Linked DNA regions of Homo sapiens: all the other regions are linked to region 1. The links are contacts of gene promoters, found by promoter capture Hi-C in blood cells and fetal thymus (Javierre and others, 2016). All regions are on one chromosome and are shown on one strand. Each heading gives the region's core, a stretch centred on a gene start or on the middle of the fragment in contact. The rest is flanking DNA. Distances are from core to core; before and after follow the strand shown. Region 1 holds the start of PSMB4 (proteasome 20S subunit beta 4). Region 2 has its middle 15 kb from the start of MRPL9. Region 3 overlaps TDRKH (tudor and KH domain containing).

Region 1 (3,262 bases), core at 349-2,848:
TGGTATAAAAAGCATTAGAGTGAAAGATGACATTCTACTTCTTGCCTCACCAGAATGAACTCTGCTTAGAAAATAAGCTAAGAGCCACTTCAGGAAGAAGTTCTAGGGTGTCCTCTCTTTGCATGTCTACTGACTCCCAGTCATGTCATCTTGTCACTGGAATCAGTGTCAACACCTACAGCCCCCAGACTACAAAGAAAACCATCTGCCCAGTAATAGCGATCCCAGCCCATCCCTCATATCAGAATTTCAGGAGAAAAGCAGACAACCACTAATCCATTTCCTTTTGTCTTCCCTTTCCCCCACCTCTAGACTTACTACTTACCTGAGCCAAGTATGCACCATAACCAGTGGCCAGCGAAGGGGCTTCATAGGCTACACCAAGCATGTCCACATAACCGAGGAAGCTAACAGGACACAATGGGTCAAAACTCATTTCACCTTAGATTCATCTTAGCTGAAGAAGGGGACCATGGGGTCTGAGTTAAAGTGGGATTCACTTGGGGAGAAGAGACAGAAGAGATACTACACAGGTACTAGGTTGGGTGGTAAAGGAAATAAGTTATTTGTATTCATATGAACCTCTCTCCATCAGCATAGCCTCCGATGACCATGGTGTTCCACAAAGGGTTCATCTTCGAGCGCCGGCTGTACATGGCCCTGGTCAGCCATGAATGAATAGCTCTAGGACTATAGCTGTGTCCATCTCCCAGAAGCTCCTCATCAATCCTTAAAAGGAATTGGTTGTGAGAAAAGGGAGAGAATTAAGTCGGGGTCTCCACCCATCCCCAAAAGAAGTTACCACACCTTCCCCCATTTTACACCTAATGCCAAAAACTTTATTGCAAACACAGATCGCCCACCTCCAACAACTCTTCCAGTCCCCCGCTGCAACAAGTCCCCCCATCCCATCGAAGGGAATAAAAAACAGGGGACTCCCCTCTCTACTTGGGAACCACTCTCCTGTTCTCTGGATGACTTACACCATCTGGCCGAGAACTTGCTTCAAATACTGGAAATCAGCGTAGTCGCCAGAGGCACCCAGCATGGTACTGTTGTTGACTCGCATAATGCGAGAGATGTTGCGGAAACGAGCCAAGGAGCCGTAGGATCCCAGCATGTCTGCGGCAATCACCACTCCGCCCTCGAACTTAACGCCGAGGACTGAGGTCCCGGTCACCATGGGGTTCCTAAAGAGTGAGAACGGTGGGAGCTGAGAGGGGGGATGGACTGCGCCCTCTTTCCGCGCACTGAGCTGCGCTTCTGATTTTCTATAATTCCTTCCAATTATTCTGCATTCTCCAGGACTCCGCGCCCTGAGCTCCCCTGCCGTTCGCGCGCCCCCGGGGTCCCCGCCTCACCTTCCCGGGCTCTCAAAACCAGCCGGCAGCACCAGGCCCCACGGTCCCTCCCGCTACGCAAACGAAAGCGCCGAGAACTTACTGGGTCCGCGTGATTGGACCTCTGTAAAGTGCAGACGCCGGATCCATGAAGGAATCGGGAGTGGACGGAATGCGGTAAAACTGTCCTGGGGCCGGACCCCCCGCCCAAAGTCCGGACCGCGACCCCAAAAACGCTTCCATCTTAGTCACGGTAGCAGAAAAAATGAAAGCGCTTGCGCCAACGGAAGCGGAAGTGATCCTTCAGTGTCATTTCTTTCTTTTTCCTGTAGACGACTTCCAGCAGCCATGTTGATGAGGTCGTAGCTGAACATGCAGTAATCCTAGGTGGCGACCGAGACAGGGAGTTGAAATTGCCCAACATCGCTTCGCATCGCATCGCATCTCCGTGGAGTTTGGACCAGATCACAGCGTTCTAACACACGATTCAAGGAGGAGGGAGGCATGAAGGTGGGGTGGGGAGGTGGCCACTTAAAGACGCTGATCCTGAGTGAGACGTCACAATTTTTTATTTTATTTTTTATTTTTTTGAGACGGAGTCTCGCTCTGGCCCCCAGGCTGGAATGCAGTGGCGCGATCTCGGCTCACTGCAACCTCCGCCTCCCAGATTCAAGCGATTCTCGTGCCTTAGCCTCCCGAGTAGCTGGGATTACAGGCGCCTGCCACCACGCCTGGCTAATTTTTTGTATTTTTGCTAGAGATGGGGTTTCACCATGTTGGCCAGGCTGGTCTCGAACTCCGGATCTCAGGTGATCCGCCTGCCTCGGACTCCCAAAGTGCTGGGATTACAGGAGTAAGCCGCCTCGCCCGGCCTAGAAGTCACAGTTCTCATGTTCCTTTTGTATCATTATCAAAAAGCCCACATGAAAATATCAGTGAACACAGGATCTCTTACATCTGTACTCCTCAGAGCAGCCCCATGTGGCAGGCATTATTCGACCCATTTGGTAAATAGGAAACCGAGGCTTGCGGTGTAGTGATTTACCCAGTCACACAGCCGATAACGGTAGAACTGAATCTTGAAGCTAGAATAAAAAAAGGAATCAGGGCCGGGTGCGGTGGCTCATGCCTGTAATCCCAGAACTTTGGGAGGCCAAGACGGGAGGATCACTTGAACCCAGGAATTCAAGACCAGCCTTGGCAACATGGTGAGACCTCACCTCTACAAAACAAAACAAAACAAAAAATTAGCCAGGCCTGTAATTCCAGCTACTTGGGAGGGTGAGGTGGGAGAATCGCCTGAACCCGAGGGAGGTTGCAGTGAGCCAAGGTGGCGCCACTGCACTCCAGCCTGGGCAACAGAGCGAGACCCTGTCACAAAAAAAAAAAAAAAAAAAAAAAAAAAAAGAATACACTTGTGTATACCCTGTGGGGTGTGATAGCTCAGGTGGATCAAGCACTCTCTGTGGGACCTTAGACAAGTCTGAAAGTTTCCTTATTGTCAAGGGCCCTTGCCCACCTCTAAAGAAACAGAAAAATTCCATTGGAAGTGTAGGGGTGAAACTAAATTCCAGGGGTTTCCTTCTCAGTGTAACTCCATAGCAGGGGCTGGAAACTGTCTTGAATCAAACTGGTGAATTTTGTCAAAGATAAACAAAGCCGGACACTAAAGTGGAAAGGACAGATTTCAATCAGTAATAACTACTACAATAAGGAAAAACAGTTCAGCATGAACTGAACTCAACTGCAATTTGTATGCAAGTAATGGGTATTTTATAGGGAAAATGAGGTTAGGGGACAGTGAGACAGAGGGTCAGTAGAGTCAGGGAAGTGAACATTTACAGAATTAGTCAATGTAAATGTGCTTAGGTCAATGATGTCTGCTAGCTGGCATTTATGGAAGTTAGGATTCCATCCTCCCA
Region 2 (3,004 bases), core at 150-2,649, 350 kb before region 1:
TGGCTCCCTTGGTTCTCAGGCTTTCAGACTCAGACTGGCATTACACCACGGACTTTCCTGGGGCTCTAGTTTGCAGATGGCAGATCATTGGGTTTCTCAGCCTCCATAATCACATGAGCCAATTTATACATATATTCCATTGGTTCTATTTCTCTGGAGAACTCTATTACCGTGGCCCTACCCCAACCCATGCCAAAACTAAGTGGGAAACCTAGACTTCCACTCTCTCAAGATTGTAACAGGCCACCCCAATACCCTTACTAGAGTGGTGTCACACAAGGCCAAGTAGGGAACTGGGACTTTTGTCCCAGCCAGCCAGTAATGAGCCCTCCTCTCTGTGTGCATGATGGCAATAAAGACCGTGGTGTCAGTGGGGAACCTGGATATCCATCTGGCAGAAATGAGGTACCCCTCTGCTTTTCTGCTCAGTTGGTATCAGAGGAGGCCTAGTAGAGAGTCAGGACTTTAACCATCACCCAGAGGTAATGAGGCCACCTCTACCACAGTATCAGTAGACACCATGTGGGGCTGGAACAAGCAGCCCTATCCAGCAGTAAGGAGGAGACCTGTCCCGCTTGAGTGTCAACAGAGGTACAGTGGGAAATCTGAACTTCTACCTTCACCTGGCAGCAATGAAATGACACCCCCTCTCATGCCAATGCAGTGACAGACAAAGTTAGTTAAAACAAAAGTTTTAAATTAAGATCCAAAGTCTTATAACATAATACAAAAATGTCCAGATCTCAAACTGAATGAAAAAAGACAATAGAGGTCAACACTGAGATGGCAGCTATATTAGAATATCTGACAAAGATTTTAAAGCAGCTATGATAGAAATGCTTCAAGAAGCAGTTATGAACACACTTGAAAAAAGTGAAAAACTATACAACTTCAGCAAAGAAATAGAAAGTATAAGGAAGAACCAAATAGAAATTTTAAAACTATAAAATACAATAAACAAATAGAAAAGCTCAGTGGATAGGCTCAATGCCAGAATAAAGAGAAGAAAGGGAAGAATCAGCATACCATAAGGTAGAACAATAGAAACTACTCAGTCTGAACAACGGAGAAAATAGAGTGAGAAAATGAATAGAGCCCCAGGGACCTGAGAGATGGTAACAAGAGATCTAACATTCCTGTCACTGGAGTCCCAGAAGAAGAAAAAAAGAAGGCAGGGCTGAAAAAGTACACCAAGAAATAATGACTGAGAACTTCCCAAGTTTGTCAAGAGACAAAACATAGTGATTCATAAACATAGTGATTCAAAAAGATGAGGAAGGCCGGGTACAGTGGTTCACGCCTGTAATCTCAGCACTTTGGGAGACAGAGGAAGGCAGACTGCTTGAGGCCAGGAGTTCAAGACCAGACCGGGAAATATGGTAAAACCCCATCTCTAAAAAAAACCAAACCAAAAAAACAAAAACAAAAACAACAAAAAAAAACCACACACACAAAATATTAGCCAGGTATGTTGGCATGCACCTGTGGTCCCAGCTGTGAGAGGATCACTCAAGCCCAGGAGGTCAAGGCTGCAGTGAGCTGTAATCACACCACTGCACTCCAGCCTGGGCAACAGAGTGAGTCTCTGTCTCAAAAAAGAAAAAAAAAGAAAAAATGCTGAGGAAACCTCAACCAAGATAAACCCAAATAATCTGTGCCAAGACACGTTAAAATTAAACTTCTGAAATCAGACAAAGAAAAAAAACTCTTGAAAATGTCACTATAAGGAAACAAACAATTCAGTGACAATGGATTTCTCATCAGAAATCATGGAGGCCAGAAGGAATTGGTACAATATTTTTCAAGGGCTGAAGGAAAATAGCAGTCAACTCAGAATTCTATACCCAGAAAGAAATAGAATTCTATACACAGAAAGAAAAATCCTCCAGGAATGAAGAGGAAACTAAGACATTATCAGAAGTTTTCTTAGGAAAGCAAAAAGAGTTTGTCACCAGTAGACCTACTCTAAAAGTGGCTAAAAGAGATTCTCTAAATGGAAAGGAAACAATGAAAAAAGAAATCTTGGAACATTAGGAAGAAAAGACACAGTTAGCAAAAAATATCGGAAAATCAATAGACATTTCTTCTATTGAATTTTCTAAACTATGTTTGACAGTTGAAGCAAAAATAACAACACTTTCTGATTTTATTCTAAAGGTATGTAGAGGGAATGTTTTTAGAAATTATAAATTAGAGAGGGAAAAGGGACAAAGAGAGGGTTTCCATACTTCACTCATACTGGTAAAATAATGACAGCATAGGCTATAATAAGTTATGTGTATATATAATATAATACCTGGAACAACCAATAAGAAAGCTATACGAATATACTCAAAAACACTGTAGAAAGTGCTCACTTCAGCAATACATACATTAAAATTGGAATGATACAGAGATTAGCATGGCCTTTGTGTAAGGATAACATGCAAATTTGTGAAGCACTCCATATATTTTTTAAATGCCATAGATAAATCAAAATAGAATTCTAAAAAATGTTCAAGTAATCTTTAGGAGGTAGGCAAAAGAAAACAAAGAAACAAAAATTGGGAAAAAAAAAAACAAAACAAAAAATGGCAGACTTAAGCCCTAACATACCAATAACCACATAAAGATTAGTAGAATGAATTAAAAAGCATGACCCAAACTATGTACTATCTACAGGAAACTTACTTTAAATATAATGATATGGGCAGGCTGAAAGTAAAAGGATGGGGAAAGTTATATCATGCAGACATTAACCAAATTAGCTGGGCTTGGTGGCAGGCACCTGTAACCCAAGCTACTCAGGAGGCTGAGGCAGGAGAATCACTTAAACCTTGGAAGCGGAGATTGCAGTGACCCGAGATTGTGCCACTGGACTTCACTCTGGGTGACAGAGCGAGACCCTGTCAAAAAAAAAAAAAAAAGCCACAAGTGGTGGCTCACACCTGTAATCCCAGCACTTTGGGAGGCCAATGCAGGCAGATCACTTGAGGTTAGGAGTTCGAGACCAGCCTGGCCAACG
Region 3 (3,279 bases), core at 168-2,667, 380 kb before region 1:
TCATTTAATTTTTTTTGTCTTTTAAAACTGACTTGGGTGGGGAAAGTGAAGTATGCTTCTATTTAATTCTATGTGTACCTTAGCTAACTTTTAAAAAATACCCTGAGCCCTTTTTATATGAAATAAATTTTGAAATTGCTGAAGCTCTTGAAATTGGAAGGTAGGCAGTAGTAGTCTTTTCAGTAATAATGTGCTCCCATGCCTCTCTGCTATTCATAAAAGGATTGGATGAAACCTCCCTCTTTTCCCTGCTTTGCTTGTTTCAGGATATAAGTCAAAGAGTACAGCAGAAAATGTCTACTGAACGGACTTCTTGGACAAGCCTGTCCACCATTCAGAAAATAGCCCTGGGCCTTGGGATCCCAGCCAGTGCAACAGTTGCCTATATCCTATACCGCAGGTATAGGGAAAGCAGAGGTACGTGAACCCTATGACTGTGTGTGTGAAAATGTTCAGACATGCTCCTGCCTTGTTAAATTGAAAAAAACTCTTTCCTTGCCAGGTATTGTGTGTGTTTTGTTTTGGGGTTTTTTGTGGGGTTTTTTTGAGACAGGGTCTCACTCTGTCACCTAGCCTGGCGTACAGTGGCACAATCTTGGCTCACTGTAGTGTCGACCTCCTGGGCTCAAGCAATCCTCCCACCTCAGCCTCCAAGTAGCTGGGACCACAGGCCTGTATTTTTTGTAGAGATGGGGTTTTCCCATGTTGCCCAGGCTGGTCTTGAACTCCTGAGCTCAAGCAACCCACCTGCCTCGGCCTCCCAAAGTGCTAGGATTACAGGCATGTGCCTCCATGCCTGACCCAGGTATTTTAATTGACTTTCTGTGAGGAATCTTTGACTAAAATTATTTAGTCTTTTTTTTTTCTTTGAGACAGAGTCTCACTCTGTCGCCCACACTGGAGTGCAGTGGAGCAATCTCGGCTCACTGCAACCTCTGCCTCCCGAGTTCAAGCAGTTCTCCTGCCTCAGCCACCCTAGTAGCTGGGATTACAGGCGTGTGCCACCACTCCTGGCTAATGTTTGTATTTTTAGTAGAGACGGGGTTTCACCACCAGGGTGGCTGACCTCAAGTGATCCACCTGCCTCGGCCTCCCAAAGTGCTGAGATTACAGGCATGAGCCACTGCACCTGGCCTAGTCTTTGCTATGTTCTTACATAGCAAAGTAAGCTAGTCTATGAAATGAACTCATTTTATAACTCCATTGATGTGCTTTCTTCAGCAACATCAACACAGCAAAGAGTTCTTTTTTAATTTCTATACTCATCTTTTTTATATATTCCTTTTCTCTAATTAGTTGTTAGTAGAAGGCACTTACCTCAAAGGCTGGATCTAGAGAATAGGACCTAGAGAAATGACTTATGTACCTATCAGTCAGGAGAAGTTCTGAGCCTAATGGACCCCTCAGGTAACTTTTGGCCTTCATTCTTCTCCAGTAGTCATGTCTTGGGAGAAGTAGTTTGCCCAAACCCCAGCACCTGTTTATTGCAGAATCTGCTTTTCCCATTTTAGCATCTGAAACAGTGTCCCAGAGAAAATGCCCATCTCTGATCCTTTGGGACCTTCTAATTCCCATTCAGATGCCACTTTTCCTTGTTGTTATGGTTGAGATCCTCACTTTATCTCTTGGATCAGTGTCTCTTTGACAGCCAGATTCTGGGGAGGACTGGTAGTTATACTAGCTTTGGGTGTTATCTAAGTCTGATCTGATGAACAATGATCTGTGCAGAAGAGCGGCTGACATTTGTTGGGGAAGATGACATTGAGATAGAGATGCGGGTTCCCCAGGAGGCTGTGAAACTCATCATTGGCCGGCAAGGAGCCAATATTAAACAGGTAAGTGTGTGAGTAGGCAGTCTGCTTTCCCAAGGATTGATTCTGTTTATTGATTTCTTGTTTCCTTCCACTGACCCCATATCACAAAACATTCACATGCTCTGTGTGTGTGTGTATGTGTGTGTGTATATATAAAATATATATATATATATTTTTTTTTTTTGAGATGGAGTTTCGCTCTTGTTGTCCAGGCTGGAGTGCAATGGCACGATCTCGGCTCACTGCAACATCCGCCTCCTGGGTTCAAGTGATTCTCCTGCCTCAGCCTCCCGAGTAGCTGGGATTACAGGCACCCGCCACCACGCCCAGCGAATTTTTGGTATTTTTAGTGGAGACGAGGTTTCGTCATGTTGGCCAGGCTGATCTCGAACTCCTGACCTCAGGTGATCCGCCTGCCTCGGCCTCCCAGAGTGCTGGGATTACAGGTGTGAGCCACTGGGCCCAACCACTATGTATATTTTTAAAAGAACAAATAGAGGAACTTTTTAGCTAACTAAACTTTTTAGCTACTTCCCTTCTAGAGAAGAGTACTTCTCCCTAGAGAAAGGATGACTTAGCTTGAAATACGGGTTTTTGACTGGGTGATTGTCAGCATGGTATAACTTGAATTATCCTTTTTTTTTTTTTTTTTGAGACAGAGTCTGGCTCTGTCACCCAGGCTGGAATGCAGTGGCATGATCTTGGCTCACTGCAAGCTCCGCCTCCCATGTTCACATCATTCTCCTGCCTCAGCCTCCCAAGTAGCTGGGACTACAGGTGCCCGCCACCACTCCCAGCTAATTTTTTGTATTTTTTGTAGAGACAGGGTTTCACCATGTTAGCCAGGATGGTCTCGATCTCCTGACCTCGTGATCCAGCCGCCTTGGCTTCCCAAAGTGCTGGGATTAGAGGCGTGAGCCACCGCGCCTGGTCAAATTATCCTTTTCTACTATGGAATTAATGAACTCTCATTAATTGACAGTAAATATTGAATGGCTACCTGGTTCTTCTTACCATCTTCCATTGTTCAGCTGGAATGTCAAGAAAACAAAATATTTGATTCTCTAATCCAAATAAAATTAGTAAGGGGAAAGGATTCTAAACACAAAGATAAATGGGTTTGAATTTACTGCTATTTGGGGTTACATTTGTTACTAATCTCCTTCCATAAAGTGAGGACTGGTTGTATAGATAGTAACTGAGGTTGTATATAAAGTAATTGAGGACTGGTTGTATAGATAGTATTAGCTAATTCCTTTGGCTAATTCTATCTACCTCCAGGGTTTGTTTTAGAGTGTCTGTAGCTGGGCTCAAATGGGAGCTCTTCCAGAATGTACTGCCAAATGTCCTTTTCTTTGCAGCTGCGGAAACAGACAGGTGCTCGGATTGATGTGGACACAGAGGATGTAGGCGATGAGCGAGTGCTGCTTATCAGTGGTTTTCCTGTTCAGGTGTGCAAGGCCAA

What was found. Contacts are between HindIII fragments. The CHiCAGO score rates a contact against its expected background, and 5 or more counts as called.
Region 2: a fragment that was not itself captured here is called in contact with the fragment with the promoter of PSMB4 in region 1 in 1 of 17 cell types (M2 macrophages); the score reaches 5.2 in M2 macrophages.
Region 3: a contact is called between a fragment that was not itself captured here and the fragment with the promoter of PSMB4 in region 1, in 3 of 17 cell types (M1 macrophages, M2 macrophages and M0 macrophages). The highest score is 7.8, in M1 macrophages.

The regions. Positions count from the first base shown.
Region 1 is chr1:151,397,909-151,401,170 of GRCh38, reverse strand. PSMB4 (proteasome 20S subunit beta 4) reads right to left here and starts at 1,598. Exons shown (of 7, transcript NM_002796.3): 1 at 1,444-1,598; 2 at 984-1,190; 3 at 583-729; 4 at 326-407. The coding sequence starts at 1,583. RefSeq lists a silencer at 871-1,028 and enhancers at 797-1,518, 1,869-1,918, 1,519-2,241. The HindIII fragment of the contact is 7,561 bases long and covers 1-3,262 here.
Region 2 is chr1:151,747,046-151,750,049 of GRCh38, reverse strand. It overlaps the pseudogene RNU6-662P. Among named protein-coding and RNA genes, the nearest start is that of MRPL9, 15 kb to the left of the region's middle. The HindIII fragment of the contact is 7,839 bases long and covers 1-3,004 here.
Region 3 is chr1:151,780,037-151,783,315 of GRCh38, reverse strand. It overlaps TDRKH (tudor and KH domain containing), which reads left to right. Exons shown (of 13, transcript NM_001083965.2): 2 at 267-417; 3 at 1,729-1,835; 4 at 3,176-3,279. The coding sequence starts at 294. Among named protein-coding and RNA genes, the nearest start is that of TDRKH, 8.8 kb to the left of the region's middle. The HindIII fragment of the contact is 4,445 bases long and covers 1-3,279 here.